Linked DNA regions of Homo sapiens: all the other regions are linked to region 4. Evidence: promoter capture Hi-C in 16 types of primary human blood cells and fetal thymus (Javierre and others, 2016). All regions are on one chromosome and are shown on one strand. The core of a region is centred on a gene start or on the middle of the fragment in contact, and the rest is flanking DNA. Distances in the headings are between cores, read along the strand shown. Region 1 has its middle 47 kb from the start of LINC00434. Region 2 overlaps TDRD3 (tudor domain containing 3). Region 3 overlaps DIAPH3 (diaphanous related formin 3). Region 4 holds the start of DIAPH3 (diaphanous related formin 3). Region 5 overlaps DIAPH3 (diaphanous related formin 3). Region 6 overlaps DIAPH3 (diaphanous related formin 3).

Evidence for each region. Contacts are between HindIII fragments. The CHiCAGO score rates a contact against its expected background, and 5 or more counts as called.
Region 1: a contact is called between a fragment that was not itself captured here and the fragment with the promoter of DIAPH3 in region 4, in 1 of 17 cell types (erythroblasts). The highest score is 5.3, in erythroblasts.
Region 2: a contact is called between a fragment that was not itself captured here and the fragment with the promoter of DIAPH3 in region 4, in 7 of 17 cell types (non-activated CD4 T cells, monocytes, naive CD4 T cells and 4 more). The highest score is 7.5, in non-activated CD4 T cells.
Region 3: a fragment that was not itself captured here is called in contact with the fragment with the promoter of DIAPH3 in region 4 in 1 of 17 cell types (M0 macrophages); the score reaches 5.1 in M0 macrophages.
Region 5: a contact is called between a fragment that was not itself captured here and the fragment with the promoter of DIAPH3 in region 4, in 1 of 17 cell types (M0 macrophages). The highest score is 6.6, in M0 macrophages.
Region 6: a contact is called between a fragment that was not itself captured here and the fragment with the promoter of DIAPH3 in region 4, in 1 of 17 cell types (M0 macrophages). The highest score is 5.3, in M0 macrophages.

What each region holds. Positions count from the first base shown.
Region 1 is chr13:60,314,096-60,316,945 of GRCh38, forward strand. No RefSeq gene overlaps it. Among named protein-coding and RNA genes, the nearest start is that of LINC00434, 47 kb to the left of the region's middle. The HindIII fragment of the contact is 5,772 bases long and covers 1-2,850 here.
Region 2 is chr13:60,412,740-60,415,938 of GRCh38, forward strand. All of the region lies in intron 1 of TDRD3 (tudor domain containing 3), which reads left to right. Among named protein-coding and RNA genes, the nearest start is that of TDRD3, 17 kb to the left of the region's middle. The HindIII fragment of the contact is 2,561 bases long and covers 400-2,960 here.
Region 3 is chr13:59,920,895-59,923,742 of GRCh38, forward strand. All of the region lies in intron 18 of DIAPH3 (diaphanous related formin 3), which reads right to left. Among named protein-coding and RNA genes, the nearest start is that of DIAPH3-AS1, 90 kb to the right of the region's middle. The HindIII fragment of the contact is 528 bases long and covers 1,229-1,756 here.
Region 4 is chr13:60,162,510-60,165,344 of GRCh38, forward strand. It overlaps DIAPH3 (diaphanous related formin 3), which reads right to left and starts at 1,419. Exons shown (of 28, transcript NM_001042517.2): 1 at 1,078-1,419. The coding sequence starts at 1,257. LOC105370227 (a long non-coding RNA gene) reads left to right here and starts at 1,548. Exons shown (of 2, transcript XR_942001.2): 1 at 1,548-1,690. RefSeq lists an enhancer at 1,808-1,857. The HindIII fragment of the contact is 7,568 bases long and covers 1-2,835 here.
Region 5 is chr13:59,972,421-59,975,521 of GRCh38, forward strand. DIAPH3 (diaphanous related formin 3) reads right to left here. Exons shown (of 28, transcript NM_001042517.2): 15 at 1,932-2,036. Among named protein-coding and RNA genes, the nearest start is that of DIAPH3-AS1, 39 kb to the right of the region's middle. The HindIII fragment of the contact is 196 bases long and covers 1,748-1,943 here.
Region 6 is chr13:59,936,961-59,939,851 of GRCh38, forward strand. All of the region lies in intron 17 of DIAPH3 (diaphanous related formin 3), which reads right to left. Among named protein-coding and RNA genes, the nearest start is that of DIAPH3-AS1, 74 kb to the right of the region's middle. The HindIII fragment of the contact is 1,694 bases long and covers 756-2,449 here.

The sequences.
Region 1 (2,850 bases), core at 188-2,687, 150 kb after region 4:
TTGGATGTATGAGTCTGGAGCTCAGGGGAAAGAGGAGAGTGCCCAAGATTACATTTGAGAGTAAGCAGTATAGTGGTGATGCTCAAAGCCATGGAGGAGGAGGAGGTTGCCTTCGGAGGGAGGGAGGTGGCTTGTAGATGAAACAAGGGAAAAGGAGGGAGTACAGGAGCCCTCCAATATTTGGGGTGGAAGAAAGAGAAGAAGGAACCAGCAAAGGGTTCTGAGGGAGTAGAAGAGAACCCCTGGAGCGGGAAGAATTTCTAGAAACAGAAAGTTATCGAGTTTGGCAAAAATTGCTAAAAGTTCAGAATGAGGACAAAAAAGTGCCCATTTTATTTGGCGACCTGGGGGTCATTAGTGACCTTGAGAGGAGCATTTCGTTGGAATGGTGGAGGCAGAAACCAGGCTGAAGTTATTGGAAGAGAGAATGGGAGTGAAGAAGTGAAAACAGTAAGTATAGAACCAGTTAGGGGACACCTTGCAGCGAAAAACAAAAGAGAAATAAGGAAAAACCTGGTAGGAAATGTGAGGCAAAGGAAGGTTGTTGTTTTAAATAGGACAAAACACAGCCTATCTGTTGTACTGATCAGATGAGCCAATAGACAGAGAGAAACAGATGATACTGGAGAGAGGAAATAATCAGATGAATGAAGTCCTTGAGAGGGGAGATGGTATTCAAGTCACAAGAAGGGGGCGGTAACAAGAGGAAGAAGTAACACAGGAGAACCTGAAAAATAGGTAGGTTTTTCTATTTGGTAGCAGGAATAAGAGAGTTCTTAATTCTATTCCATCAATCAACAGCAAGGAAAGGTCATCAGCTGGAGTGAGGAAATAAGAAAATGTGGGAAGTAAGACTTGTGAAAGAGTGATTTCAGGCTGGGCCCAGTGGTTCATAACTGTAATCCCAGCACTTTGGGAGGCCAAGGCGGGTAGATGACTTGAGGTCAGGAGTTCAAGCCAACACGGTGAAACTCCATCTCCACTAATACAAAAATTAGCTGGGTATGGTGGTGCATGCTTGTAATCCCAGCTATTTGGGAGCCTGAGGCAGGAGGATTGCTTGATCCTGGGTGCTGGAGGTTGCAATGAGCTGAGATCGTGCCACTACACTCTAGCCTGGGCTACAGGTTGAGACTCTGTTCTAAAAAAAAAAAAAAAAAAAAAAAAAGCAATTTCAGAGAGTGGGAAAGCAAAACAAACCCACTAGAAATGAATGAGCAGGATAGTTGGGCACTGTTGGATGTTCATTTGGGGTTTATGATCATGAATTTTGATGCAACCAGTCACCCCATGGGTCCTATGTATCATTTTCCTAGCAAAGGTTAGCAACTTTGGTACAGATATGTGTTCAAAGAGGTTGGAGTTTTGACAGGTGAATATGATGTAAGAGAAGAGGGGAAAGTTCATTGAGGATGGTTGCATGGAAGTGCTGGACCAGGAACTCTAGACTGGGAAGCAAAGACATGAAAACAGAAGAGAAATGATGAATAGTCGGAAATGGTCAGTTAAATAAGCTAGGTACACGTGTTAGGCCATTCTTGCATTGCTATAAAGAAATACCTGAGGCGGGGTAATTTATAAAGAAAAGGGGTTTAATTTGATTCACAGTTCTGCAGGTTGTACAGGAAGCATGGTGCCAGCACCTGCTCCTGATGAGGCCTCAGGAAGTTTTCAATCATGGCAGAAGGTGAAGGGGGAGCAGATGTATCACATGGTGGGAAAGGGAGCGGGAGAGAGGCAAGAAGTGCCATGCTCTTTTAAACAATCACCACATGAACTCAGAGCAAGAACACACTCATTACCGTGAGAACAGCACCAAACCGTTCATGAAGGATCTTCCCCCAGAATCTAAACACCTCTTACCCATGCCCCACCCCCGACATTGGGGTTGCAGTTCAACATGATATTTGGAGGGACAAACATCCAAACTATATCAGCACAGAAAGATAAATATTGTAAATTCTCATCTCACTCATATACAGGAGCTAAAAAAGTGGATCTCATGAAGGTAGAGAGTAGAATGATGGTTACCAGAGGCTGGGAAGGGAAGGGTTGGGAGGGTGAAGAAAAGCTACTTAAGGAGTACAACAATACAATTGGATAGAAGAAATAAGTTCCAGTGTTTAATAGTACAGTAGGAGACTGGGCGCAGTGACTCACACTGTAATCCCAGCACTTTGTGAGGCCGAGGTAGGTGGATCACCTGAAGTCAGGAGTTTGAGACCAGCCTGGCCAACTTGGTGGAACCCCATCTCTACTTAAATACAAAAATTAACTGGATGTGGTGATGTGCGCCTGTAATCCCAGCTACTCAGGAGGCTGAGGCAGGAGAATTGCTTGAACCTGGGAGGTGGAAGTTGCAGTGAGCCAAGATTGCGCCACTGCACTCTAGCCTGGGTGATAGAGTGAGACTCCATCTCAAAAAAAAAAAAAAAAAAGGAAAAGAAAGGAATGATAGTATAGTACGAAAATTAAAGTTAAACATAACTTGTTGTGTATGTCAAAACAGCTAGAAGAAAAGATTTGTAATGTTTCCAGCACAGGTAAAAGATACATCTTTGAGGTGATGGATATCCCAGTACCCTGATTTGATCATTGCACATTGTATACAGAAATCTGAATATCACATGTACCCCCAAAATATGTACAATAATTATACATCAATAAAAATAAATAAGTAAAAGAAATGTAATTTAGAACTCTAAAAGAATTCTAAGGAATTATTCAGAATTATTATTTCAGAATGTTTTTGAAAGACTTTGAAACACAAACACTTTTTGTTTTTGAAAGACTTAGAAACACAAACACTTTTATATAAGTCTCAATTATATTATCTAATTCAGGGTGAAC
Region 2 (3,199 bases), core at 430-2,929, 250 kb after region 4:
GTTTTCATGGAAAATAAAATTGAATTGGACTGTTAGTGGTCTTTTAAAATGGTTTACCTTATCGCAGTAGCTTTCATTTCATGTGTAAATTAAATTGCTTATCATTATTCTTAAACATTTGCTTAAAGTAATGCTTTAAGCAAAAGTATATGTAAAATATGATTATAGATCTCTACATATCTAAGATGCGTACTTTAAAAGTTGAAATACAGGCTCATGTTTGACTGAATGTTTTTGTTATTTTCAACTTGCTTTTTGCTGTTACGGCCTGCCTGGTATTCCCTGCAGTATCCCTGTACTCCCAATTTTTTTTTTTTTTGCCTAAGTACCCAATATATATGAACTAATAGGTCAACAGGAAGTTAGCATGTGAAAATGCTGCCAAGGAATGGGCCCAAAAGCTTGAATCACTTTGTGTTTGAAACTGAGATGTGTAAATTAAATGATTTTGAATAAACATTTATATTAGAATTAGTTAATTATAATTAATTAGAATTTCATCACAAAACTGAATTATTGTGAGAGATTACTGAGGAAAAAAATAGTTACAAAAACACTGCCATGTACCTTTTATATTCAGTTAGATATATATCTGCTTGAGAAGCTGTATGGCTGGTGTTTACGAGCATGGGCTCTTGAAGACCAATTCTCCTGAGCTGAGATCAGTCCTGGTTCTGCCACAGATTAGCTATAACCTTGGGCACATTTCTTAACTGCTCATGTCTCAGTTTGCTTATCTATAAAATGGTGTCAATATTATACCTACTTCATAGTATTGTTAGGAGGATTAATAAGTTAATACACACAAAGTGCTTAGAATACTGCTTGGCATATGCTGAATGCCCAGTAAATACTTAATGTTCTTGCTGTTGTATGTCAAGACTGGACTCACTTAAATTAGTGTTGTCAGTTAAATACATTCATGTTACTTGCACACATGAATTTCTGATCTTGTGTCACCTTTGGAAAAAGTTGATGCCCTTTACTCTATTTTAGATTACCTTATATAGCCTGTGAGAGTGTTACTTCAATAAAGATAAAATCTTTATATCTTATGGATTTTTAATCTCAAATATATATATCATACCATTAGCATTTTATAATCTTATAAATATTAGTGTCTCAAATTAAAGATAAAAGGTACAGGTAGAATATTTCACATAATATTACATTATTTCACTTGTACAGGAAGAATAGAAATTTGAGAGAGGAAACTGTCAATATTCAGTCTCTTAATATGGACATGAACTTAAGTCTCAGCTGAAGGGAGGTATTTTCATATTCTTGTTGAAATGTTGCATTGTTATTAAGTATTTGCCTTATATTTTTATAAATAAGGATTTCACTTAAAGAATAATGTGTTGCCCTCCTCAAAAATTAAATGTGTGGAACCAGTTGTGCAATATGTAAATTTGTGAGACAATGTACGTTTTTTTTTAAGTCCAGATACATTTTTTTTGAGAGAAGGACATGTCTATTACATCTAGTTTTTGAAGAAAGAAAGATTATATAGCTTTATCCTAAGGAGTTGGCAGACTATGACCAGTGGGCCAAATCTGGCCTGCTACCAGTTTTTGTAAATAACATTTTAGTAGAACACAGCCAGAACCACTCATACACCTACTGTCTGTAGCTGCTTTTGTGCTACAGGAGCAAAGAGTAGTTGTGACAGAAATCAAATATTGTAGGAAAGCCTGCAATATTTACTATCTGGTTCTTTACAGGAAAAGTTAGCCAATCTCTGCCCTAAGTAATTAGTAAAATAGATATATTAATTCTTTATTACTTAGAAAAAACTGAAGTTGGAACAAGTAGTATATGCTATTGGTACCAGAATTTGTCAAAAATAACTTGCCAAGAAAACCACAATCCTTGTTCTTATCCTTATTTGTAGTGACTAGTATGAATAGGGCTGCCTCATAAATTAGTAAATCCTAACTATTTGATAGGAATGTGTCAGTACTTGCAGTGGGGGCTTTTTGTCAAATACAGAGTTATCAGGTGTTTTGAAATGGTCTACTAATTTTAATAGAACTTTCCATTATATCCTAGGGCAGATAGAAATCCTTCATTGGTTTCAATTGAGCATTCCTATCACACTTGGACAACTTTTGGATTCTGTAGAATACCTAGACAACAGACAGTGGTTTTTTTTTTCTGTTTTTGTTTTTAAAAAATAAAATCAGTACTGCTTAAACAGAGGGAAAAGGGTGAATATGAGGTTGAAAAACCTGTTAAAACACATCAGTCTTGAGTAAAATATAGGAGGAGTTTGTTCTTAGATATCAAAATATATTTGGTAGCCAATCATATTTAAATTAAACTGATTGGTCATCAGCATACTGATTATTTTATATAAGAAATTGAACTTATGAAAAAAAAATTCATGTGTTGATTTGACCAAGATTGATGTTTTATAACAGTGTTTAGGGAACTAGGCATGAAGGGCCTAATGAGATCCTGTTTTACAATATTCATTGCCATTCTCATTCATATTTTTCCTTTTTAGATTTGTGTTCTGAAACTTTGAGAATTACCAATTCCACTCTGTGGACATTCATATCAACCGGGATCCAGTGCACAATTTTCATTTTTGATGTTATTCTGATTATATTATTATTTTATTATCAGATTATATTATTCTGATTACATTACTATTTCATCAGAATCTTTACGCTTCAGCCAACCACTTGGGTGTATCAGGACTATAATTAACATATTGGTAATAAGCAAACATACTCATTTAACAAATGTAAGCAATAATAGGCAAATGCCATTATTGGGAAAACTAGGCCCTCAATGTTAGCTAACTAAACAGACCAATGCAATCTTTATAACTCATTCACACACTTAAAGAATATGAGAATTTTGAAGAGTACATTAATTTTTCTGTAAAACATGATTAATATCAAATTGTAAGATGTATGCAAATAAAATTGCTTTCTTTTCTCAAATGGGCAAGCTTTGTACAGATGCCTTGATGGATCTTCCGGGAACTACCATGTCCAGAGATTTATTGAGTTTTAAATAAGAGCCATGAAAAGATCAGATTTGCCAAGTTTACAAAGATAGTTCTGGCCTTTATTTCAAGGATAGGTGAAGAGATCAAGGCTCAAGCAAAGACAATTTACGGAAAAACATTCTTTAGAGACAAACTTCATCAATATATCTTTTTCTTAAGGAAAAGTGAAGAAAGGGA
Region 3 (2,848 bases), core at 243-2,742, 240 kb before region 4:
TTCTGACCACAATGGAATAAAACTAGAAATCAGTACAGAAGAAAATTCAAAAACTTTTCAAATGCATGAAAACTAAACAACATGCTTCTAAATAACCAATGGGTCAATGAAGAAATTAAAAGTCTTCAATATAAAAATGTATTTAGAAAATTGAAAAGGGAAACACAACATACCAAAATATATGGGATATAGCAAAAGCAGATCTAAGTGAGAAGTTTACAGAAATAAATGTCTACACTAAAAAAAAAAAAATCTCAAACAACCTAACATTGCACCTGGAGGAATTAGAAAAACAAGACAAACTCAACCCAAAATTAGTAGAAGCAAGAAAATATTAAAGATCCAAGCAGAAATAAATGAAATGGAGACCAGAAAATACCAAAAAAAAAAAAGAAAGAAAAAACAACCAAAAATTTCATTTTTGGAAAAAATAAAATAATCAAATGTTTATTTAGACTAAGAAAACTCAAATAAATATAGTCATAAATGAAAAGATATTACAACTGACACCACAAAAATAAAAAAAGAATTATATGAGACTATTTTGAATAATTTCTTATACATCAATAAATTGGATAACCTAGAAAAAAAATGGATAAAATCCTAGAAACTTATAACTTACCAAGATTGAATTATAAAACAATACAATACCTGAATAAACCAATAACCAGTAAGGAAACTGAAATTAGTAATAAGTAGTTTCCCACCAAAGAAAAGCTGAGGATCTAATACATTTGCTGCTTAATTCTATCAAACATGTAAGTAAAAACTATTACCAATTCTTATCACACTATTCAAAAAAAATCAAAGAGTAGAGAATACTGCCAAACTCACTCCACAAGGCTGGCATTCCCCTGAAACCAAAACCTGCAAGAATGCAACAAAGGAAAGCTACTTGTCAATAACCCTGAAGCAAAAATTCTCAACAAAATGAATTCAATACATGAAAAAGATCATTCACCATGATTAAATGGGATTCATTCCAGAGATGCAAGGATGGTTCAAAACATGCAAATCAGTAAATGTGACACACCCTATTAACAGCATGGAAGACAAAACCATATAATCATTTCAATAGATAGAAAAATAATTTGACAGAATTCATCATTCTTTTATGATAAAGAATTTTAACAAATTAGGTATAGAAGAAATGTGTCACAACACAATAAATATATGCGTTATATATGACAAACATACAGCTATCATCATAACAAACAGAAAAGTTGAAAGCTTTTCCTATAAAATCTGGAAGAAGATAAGGATCTCCACTTTCACCACTTCTATTCAACATATTACTTGAAGTCCTAGCCAGGGCAATTAGGTAAGAGAAAAAAAATAGGCAGAAATAAGTTAAGCTGTACTTGCTTGCAGAAAACAACCTTAAATATAAAAAATCATAAACAAATGAAACTTATAAAACTCCTAAGCCTTCTCTTGATCCTAGTGTCTGGAAACCTTTATGAACTCAAAAATATAGGAAACCAAAACCACTTTTAAATAGACAAGTAGATAAATGAATGACTTTTAGATTCTTTCTCCAAAGTTCTAATCTAGTACATACCCATAATATTCTCTTCAATGAACTTTAGAAATGAACCTTTCCATTTTAGTATCAGTATTCTACTACTGACCACTGTTTTATTTCAATTTATCTCATTCCAAAACAGTTCTAAGACTCATCTCAGAATTCAGACTCTCAAAACTCTAAATTTCATGACAAAAAACTATAATTACAATGAAGATCATAGGCTGCTAAAGCTTCTTAAAGCTTAAATCATAATGCCTGCTACCATCAGAGAGGAGAAGAATAATCTTAAAATGGATTACATCATAATATGACATGGTATAAATTCTGTATCTTTTCATCTTACACTTTAAAACATGTTTCTCAATTAAATGAATAGGATATATATACTCTAGCTAAATTAAACAAGGCAAACAGGATCTTTCTCCATAAAAATGTTATTCTGTTTTCTGTAAAAAGGAACAGATATACATTAAACTATATAAACATTAAAATATTTTCAAAATGAGCAATCTTATTGAAATCACTTAACTGCTACACCCACCAGATTCCCTACCTATACTGTTAATGCTAATACCCACCTGGTGGGGTTGTAGTGAAGATTAAAGGGCCAAATACAGAACTAGTAAACAAAGGTAATCAGTATTTATTAGCTGTTTTAATTAAATTTGAAATCCCATGTAGAACATGTTCTGTAATACATAAATAAATAACCGTGTTCAAAAAGTTATTTAACTATGAGATGGACATTTAGGCTAACTTACCACAGCTGACCCATTCAGAAAGAATTCTATTAAACATTATATTTCTTCGGGAACTATTACAAGACTATTTAGAATCAACACTAGTAATTTGTAATGCAGGTCATGAACATTTTTCAAAATAAAATCATCTCTTTTAGATCACAGATACGGAACTTTCTGACATTATCTGACATAGTTCAAAACACAGTGCTTTGAACCTAGACAAAGTTCTTTTGGGAGGGAAATTCCCTAAAATATGTACATCATGCAAAAAACAAAAAACACAAAATCTCTGTGGTCTAAGCAAACACACACAAATTATTTCTCATGAAGACCATATGTTCATCACACCAGTTTCTGTTAATTATTAATTATGATCCCTATATCAGGATGATGGACACCACTCTGAATGCCATTCTGGGTGCCAGGGGGAGCTTCTTCAACCACCAATGAAATGCTTCCACCCCAAAAAGTGACATTAACTCCACTCCCATCTTCACTGGTCCAAGCATGTCACTTGGTGACTCCTAACTTGACAGGGGCAGAGATGTGCAATCAGCAGTGCCCAGAAATAGAGAAT
Region 4 (2,835 bases), core at 169-2,668:
CAAAATGTCACTATTCCTATGACCATTTTGATACTTAATTTGGCATAATTAATCTATGCTGTTCCTCATTTTCAATTAATCTATGCTGTTTCTCATTTTCAGTATTCTGATATATCTCATGTATCAGAATATGGGCTCTCAGTCTTATTCAACTATTATTTTTAACTAAATGTTATAGTTAGCAACTGGTTCACAAACCATTATTCCCTTAATTTGTGAATCATGACTTAAATTTCTCACAATTTTTACTTGCCCACATAAGGCAAATGCTGTACTCTCTCTCTCTCTCTCTCTCTCTCTCACACACACACACACACACACACACACACACACACAGTTTTTCCATATTCCTAAGGAAAATGGTGGAGTGGTCAATGTGAAATTTCAATTCTGTTGGACTCATCCCAAATCTATCAACCCTCTATGTGATTTATTTACACACACAAACCCCAAAATAATCATCACTGCCTATACTTTCACTAGTTGACACCAACGAAAAGACAAGGTGTTAATCATGACACTTTCCTTAAGTGTTAAACACAAGCAAACCAGAATAGCAAGTTTCAAATATTTAGAATTCTTTCCAAGCTAAGCAAAACATTCTTTAGCAGTGACCACACCACCCGCCAAGTTCTAAAACTAGCTGTTTCAACTTGGAAAATTATATCTACCTTAAAAGTTCTTATATGTAATTAAAAGTTCTTATTAAAATAATAAGCAGAAAAAAAACCTGTCACCTAAAAGTTCATTTTGATATATCTTATACCCTCTTACACTAGGGAGGAAGGGAGAACTTCGACTTAAAAAATGCAATGTCCACCTAGATGACGTCAATACATATACACGTTTGAACTGCTTTTCACATCAGCGTTAAGAAATTTGGGGGCAACACAAAGATCTGGGCATTTGTCACAGGATCCAACTACAACTAGACCCGGTCGTTGTCAATCTATGATCTTTGGCACCTCTGGATCTCTAGAATAAAACTTGGTCCCCAAGTTCTTGTGGGCCCACCCTCGGCAGTCAGCCCTACGGCGGGGCGGGAGCGGCCCCACCCTAGCTCCAGGCGATACTCACAAACTTGGGGCGCTTCTCCCCAGGCTCCTCGGGGCCACTGGGCGGCGGAGGGTGTTGGGGGCCCTTCCTGCGCGGCATCTTGCTTTCCCGGCAGCCGCGGAGAGAGGCTGAGGAAGGGTAGGGAGTCCCAGCGGCTGAGCCTTGGGCCGGGTGGTGCAGCCGCGGCTGGTGCCGTTCCATCTTTCCCCGCAGCTCCGGGGACCGGAAAGAAGGTGGCCACTCAGCAAGCCGCAAGCTGGAAGCTGAGGGATCGACAACAGGTTTTACTCCCGGGGTCCGCCACCCAAACAGTCAGCACAGCCTAGCCCAACCGCTGAAGTCGGGGCCGCAGCCAACACATCTGAAAACTCCCGCCACCCGTGTTGGCCCGGGACTGGCCAATCCCGCGCCGCCGGATCAATGACACGCTGAGGCACCGCCCCTTCCGGGCACTGCGAAACATGATTGGCCTTGCGGCCTGTCTATGCAGCCGCTCAACCCTTCCGGCGGTCCAGGCCGCTCACCTTAAGGACGCAGAGTGGCGTCAGATTTGGAGAAGCGCCGGGGACCGTGGAGGAAGTCATCGGCCTGGATTTCTTTGGATTTGCAGATAGGGTTCCAGCAGAACTGGAAGGTGGGCGAGACAGGCCCTGCGCCACCATTTGAGCAGCGCTGGGATATAAAACCATCTGCTAGCCCTCTCCTTGCACGTCTGGGGCTGGAAAAAGTAGTTCTGGGACTGGGTACGGTGCTGGAAGGGGTACTAGGCAGGATGAAACGACGGGGCCCACGACGCTCCAAAAGGAAGCCTTCTGGACATATTTCCTGCCTAAGTGCTCGCTCTGGGGTGGCAGAGGGGTCCACCCAAAATCAGACAGAGCTAGGCTAGGCTGAGCCCTTCAGGAGCTCACAGTCTCCTGTAGTTTCCAAACCCTAACACAATTAACCAAGGAATGTAAATGTCTATAGCAGTTGTTTTAGAAGTTCCTTGAGAACAAAAAGGGAAGTTATTAAATCTGAAGGAGTGGATCTGGAAAGGTAAAAGGAAAGCTGCATAGGTTTTCACTAGGCAGGAAACAGTGGCAGGGCATTCATTTAAAAGGCATTCCATTCCAGGCAGGAGCAAGGCCAAGAAAGCATAGAGGTGAAGAAACTTTAAGGTCACATAACAAAGGGCCTTGAACTGAAACCATGCAAAAGAGTTTGTTGTGTAAACCCAAGGTCAAGCTACAAGGCAAACACCGTTTTCTCAACACATCAATATACCCTCTTTAAAAATGAGCTTTTCCTTGGAACTATTCCTTTAAGATATCTGTCTTCTGATTATATGGAGGTGGTGTAGGCCAAGACTCGGAAACATGCAGTATTGATTTTGGTACAAGAAACAACTCTAGGTACTCTGAGGAGTTTGGCACAGAGGTTCAAAAAATGAGCCTTAGTTCTCAGTAAGTCTTCACACTACAGCTTTTCTTTTTTAATATTTGTTTTACTGTGCCAGACTCTACAGCTCTGTCCTCAAAGAGCACATAATCTTTAGGGAAACTTACAGGAGAACAGCAAGGTCAGGAGAACTACAAGTAGTTCCTTATATCTTGATGACAGACCCAGATACAGATTTTATTCCTGCCATTTACTAGCTATTTGATACCGGAGATGACGTTTAACTTTCTTTGCTGCTTCATCTACAAAAGGGGGGTAATTATACTAATACCTATGAAAGAGGGGCATTTTCAGGCCTAAATAACATAGCATATGTAAAGCCCTTAGAGTTTTGTCAAT
Region 5 (3,101 bases), core at 596-3,095, 190 kb before region 4:
CAAACTTCAATTCTAACTACCTTTAACATTTAATAAATGTTACATAATTTTGAATTTTCATGGCACAATTATGAAAAATAGACCATGTATAAAAGCTCGAAATCAATGACGTCTGAAATCATGACAAAGAAAACAGTGTTATAAAAGAAGTTGAGGCCACAAATCAAAAGCATGCCTTATCAAAACCATTAAGTATAAAGAAGAACCAGTTCAGTGTTACTCTGGGTTGCTGTGATCAAAGATGATACTTCCTTTTGAACGTATTTAATAATTAACTATCAATGTCTTAAAGATATGGCTGAATTTCTGCTCTAGAATAGTTCATTTGATAAAGTGTGAAGACTGACTTAAAGATATGGTTTGGGAGGCCAGACACTGTGACTATCTTGCTCATCACTATGTCTCTCCAGCACCTAAACTACCTGGTTGTGAAGAGACTACGGGAGCAAAGGAATTAAATCACAGATAACAGAACATATTTTATTCATACTCTTCATAGTCAGCATAGCTTTGAACAAAAAGAAGGATCTTAAGATAAATGCCCACATTTCATAAGAAATAAACCAGAATCCAAAGAAAGAATTTGCCAGTTGTTCAAACATGAATATGGTGGCCAATATTAAGTATCTAATTCTAGGTTTTCTTCTCATAGCCATAAACATGGGTCATCACTGTATACAATTTAAAACAATTTAGGAGATTCCTTGATTTAATTTCACTTTCAAAACATACACTTATTCCCATTTTATGTAAAAGCACTATGCAGCAATAACTTATTCAAAAATGGTGGATACGTTTTTTATAAACTGGAATTTTCTGGAGATTTACAAACAAACCTTCAACTGAACATAATTAAAAAGAAAAGAAAGTTCTTAAATTTACGTTACCCCAGACCAAGAAAAACTTGTTATAAATATTTCAGCCACTGTCTGTAACTCAGTCTGAAGTACAGACACAATCAAATGTTTCTTTCAATATGAGAGACAAGGAACCATATGGGAAAGATAAAAAAAAAAATTCAATAAAATGTGATACTTCCCTCTTGCAGCACTAAAGAAAGAAGATGAATGAGAATAATTTTCTTGTAGATAGGAGATTTTAATTTTTTTCTAAAATTGAATACTAACAGATAGCTATCTCTTAAGGTATCTCCAGACAGCCTCAGCAACAAAACTATCCACTAAGCATTTAAAAGAAAACAAAATTGCCAGTAAGATAGGATATAGTATACCTGAGACTATTTCAACATAACTGTAAATTAAGATGAAAGGAAAATAGCAAAACTATACTTATTGCTCATCATCCTGTACGTAAATCTACATGAAGAAATTTAGCTATGAATATTCTACCTCCTTACTTACATCCACATAAAGCATGCAGATGACGTATTTCTTGCTATCTAAATGTTTTATGTGTAGAGGGTGCATGGGAGCTATCTGCTTCATAATCCAGATTTACTCTCTTTTTTGTCATGTTTTAAATCTGTTTACTTTGGAAATTGAAAAATTATCAGAAAATGTTCTCATTCAGCTAGAGGTTATCTTTTACTGCAAGGGACCCCTAGGCTGAAGGTTTTAAAAAATAAATAGCTTGAGCAATAATTTCTTGTAGTGGGATAAAGATCAGTGATGAATAACAAATCTGAGAGTAAAAGATTTTCTTACTCTTTATGCTGAATTACTTAGGAAACATGTGACATTAGGAACAAAACCCTAACAAAACATAAGAAAGCAGATTAATTAGTAAAAGCTTAGATATACATACATATAGAAAAAAATGACAAAAAAATAGCAAAACACAGTACAAATAATGCTATAAAAATATACAAGCAAAATTAAAGTTTAAACATTTTGATGCTATGAAGATATAACATAACCTTTGCTCCCTCACTGTGTTTTTAATACCCAAATTCACTCAGAGTGGAATTTTACCTGAGACTTAAAAGCTTGTAGCTCTGCTTGAAGCTCATTAATCTTTGCCTCTTTTTTCTGCAATTCAGCCTGAGTTTCTTGGTGGTCGGTAAACTCTTTTTCAAACTGAAACAAATTAAAAATAATAACAAAAACAGGAAGATGAAAATGAAAAGCACTATTCTTCTTATAGAAATGTGACTCGAATGATCTGCCGGTAGAACACAAATTCCTGAATTGGTTTTATGAAAGGAGTGATAGAGTTTTGAAAAGTCACTTACAGTCTTTCTCTAGGCCCCTCCAGGTCCCAACCAAAATCGTTCATTCACAAGGGGGCAGAAAAAAGCCATAGACAAGTCTGTGACCTTCTCTCTGCAGAGCAAACTGGCCACAGTTATCTGCAGCATTGGCATTTTTCTTCAAAGTCTCTAAATATTATTGTGACTTTGTGTAAAATAATAGAGAGCAAAGCATTGTACAAATTCCTTGCATCTTCCACCTGCAAAAACTTATTCTTGAAACTTATCTGAAGTATATCAACATGATTTAGAGGATTTCATTTTAATATTTTTTATTACTAAACAACTCCATTCTATTCAGTTTCTAACTTTTTTTCTTGTAACAACATAATATCTCCTGATATCTTTGGGAAAGTAATGATAAATTAATTTTTCAAAGTCCCTAGTGAAATACCTTCTGGAAAAAAAAGGAAACAATAAAATTTGGTGAATCCAGTGAATTTTCTATAATAATTTATATATCCACTCATCACCAGTTCTCATCTTGCATTCAAACACATTCAACTTTGCCATTATTATGACTAAAAACCTCCTTTTTGCTCACAAACACAAGCATTTGACTTTCTTAAGAAAAATGAAAAAAAAAATCAATCAAAAAAATGCAACTATCTCACAAATGTGGCCTCCACATTTTAAATACACTCAAACCTTAATTAGGAAAATAACAACAATGTAGAACTCCACCGTTTACAAAGGGATTTTATTTTTACTTAGTTTATAAAGGGAATCTTACTTTGTCCTTAATAACACTAAGAGGCAGTTGCTAGTCCCTCATAGCTAGTAAAAGATGTGAGATTAAAAAGCCAGATTCCCCGCCTTCAGAGTCTAAGTTCAAATGAAACTATGCCACCTCCCTGCAATTAACGTTTAGATAATGCTTTACGGTTTTACT
Region 6 (2,891 bases), core at 353-2,852, 230 kb before region 4:
AGACCATCCTGGCTAACATGGTGAAACCCCATCTCTACTAAAAATACAAAAAATTAGCTGGGCGTGGTGGCGGGTTCCTGTTGTCGCAGCTACTCGGGAGGCTGAGGCAGGAGAATGGCTTGAAACCGGGAGGCAGAGCTTGCAGTGAGCTGAGATTGCACCACTGCACTCCAGCCTGGGCAACAGAGCAAGACTCCATCTCAAAAAAAAAAAAACATAATAATAATAATTTTTCCACTATTTTTACGTATAACATTCTCTCATATGTTCTCTGATGGTAGAAATATATCTCTGCTAGAATAAATTACAAAACCAACTCTGAAAGTTAATGTATGACATACGAAGACATATACAAAAGAAAGTACAAGAGAGGAGAAAAGTCATGAGTGAGAACTCAGTGTACATTCCTAATTTAGAAGAACTAAATCCAAATGATAACACAGGTAATTCAGGATCTCTAGCATGGTGTCGAATGGAAAGAGTTGATAAACCAGCTTACTAGTATTTGTACACACAATGCTAAGCAACTTGAGACTAGAAGAAGTAACAATACATTATATTAACAAACAGATAAAAAGCAATGCCACATTAAATCATAGGCAGACCATCCTGGCATATTCCTGGGGAAAACAGAACACAATCATCAAAACAGCCAGAGTGATTATCCAAAACTTGATAGAAGAGAAGTGATCTGACACAAAAATGACCATTATTCCAAAATACTGAAAAAGAATTGACTGACAGCAAAATGGTCAAGCTTAAGTAGTAGAATTTTACAATAAACTTACTTCTATATTTGATGACAGCATGCCTATAATTTTGTGATCTTGTTTTGGGAGGTGGGGAGGCAGGGGAGGGGACGGGAAGCAAAAAAAGAAAGAAAATGCTTTATTGTGTGGGGAATGGAGTGTGGGTGTGCCAGGGTAGAAAAGAGGAGGAGAAGGTAGAGACAATACCTAGGTATTTGTTCAACTGAACTCAACTTTTATTATCTGGACTTTCTGATACGTAGTTATCCTGTCTCTCTCTCTCTGCTTTTACGTTCTTGTTTTTGATAGCTCAGTTGGGAATTCAAGTCACTTGCCCAGTTTCTCAGTTATTAAATCTTTATTTCTCTGTGCTCTAAGAATAATGCCCCAGTTAGCATTCCAGATCATTCTGGTCTCCAATTGGTCTAGCTAATTGGAGTTCCATTATTTGCCTGATCTGTGTTCTAGAATAAACTATTCTGTGCTAGTTTCTGTCCCCACAATCTCCTGAATTTGGAATTTTTATTAATCTGGGCTGTTAAAATTTGTAGTTCTATGTTATCTTACCTTCTGGCTGGAGCTTGTGTTGTGTACATCCTATATAGCTATTTATAACACCCGGCTTGCAGTGGCACAGGCCTGTAATCTCAGCACTTTGGGAGGCCAAGGCTGGAGTATTGCTTGAGGCCAGGATTTCAAGACCAGCCTGGGCAACAAAATGAGTACTCATCTCCACAAAAAACGTAAAAATTAGCTGGGCATAGTGGTATGTACCTGTAGTGCTAGCTACTCAGGAGGATGAAGTGGGAGGATCACTTGTGCCCAGGAGTTTGAGGCTGCAGTGAGCTAAGATCATGCCACTGCATTCTAGCCTGGGCAACAGAGGCAGACCTTGTTTGGAAAAAAAAAAAAAATTAATAAAATGCCCAGCTCACATACAGACCTCTTTTCCACTGTACCATCTAACTGCAACCCAAATGTTCCATATACACTTCCCTAGTAGTATAAGGAGGTGAGGTTAAAGGAAGACTAGCAGGATTCATTTTATATTGTGATTAGAAAATGATATTTTTAAAAATAATCTTCCTGAGAGAGTAGAGAATGGGGAGTTAGTGTTTAATGGGTACAGAGTATCAGCTGGAGAAGATAAGTTCTAAAGACGGATGGTACTGATGGATGCACAACGTTAGTGTTGCTAATGCCACAGAACTGTACAGTTAAACATGGTTAAAACGGTAAAATTTTGTTATGTATTCTTAACCACAACATTTAAAAATAGAAAAAAATTTCTTTATGAGGCTTGATTTCAAATCACTCATTTTAATTTGACCTCTTGATTTGAAAATTTATGTAGGAATCATGTAGTTAAAATTTTGCTTTGTCAAATGAAGAACAAAAATCTAAGTGGCTGTAAAATTAATCAGACCAAACTGGGATCATTTAAAATGTATACGTTCTTTCCCAAGAGGTGTTCAAAGGCAGAGTTGGTCCTTATTCACTGCACACCTCAAACTTATACATTGGTTTGACTATTTATATAATGATATAGATAATGCTGTTACAAAATAACGATTTCTCTTCTACCTCTCACCCAGATTACCTCTCCAAATTGTACAAAGAATTTCATTCTTGGGCAATTCAGTGTTTCAAGAACCTAATCGCATTTCTATTTCCTTGAATACCCAGCTCTCAGATTTCTAAGCTTATAGTAGCCCATATCAATTACTCCGTCATTAAAGGTGCATAGTGATAAAGCCAGGGCAGACTTTTACATGAAAGGAAGATCTTCATCTTTTCCTACACAGAAACTGACTCTCTTCAGCTTCTTGTTCTTTGTCGCATAAAGACAGGTGGCACATGGATAATGTATAGAATTAGATTCTGGAAAGGAAACCCAAGCCATCCTTATGCTTAAAAGCCTCAAACCATTTACCCAGGACCAGAGACCAGGGAGATGTATTTGGAATATTCAGACAAAAGCCAAGTTAACAATGAAATGGCTCTTTATCTAGGTTTGTTGTGGATCCCTGTATATACATATTGACTTATATTGACTAAGGCAAAGTCACCTTTTATTTTCTAGTTAAACAATACATATGTATATGTATCTACAGGGAGAATGAGGCGTGTGTGTGTGTGTGT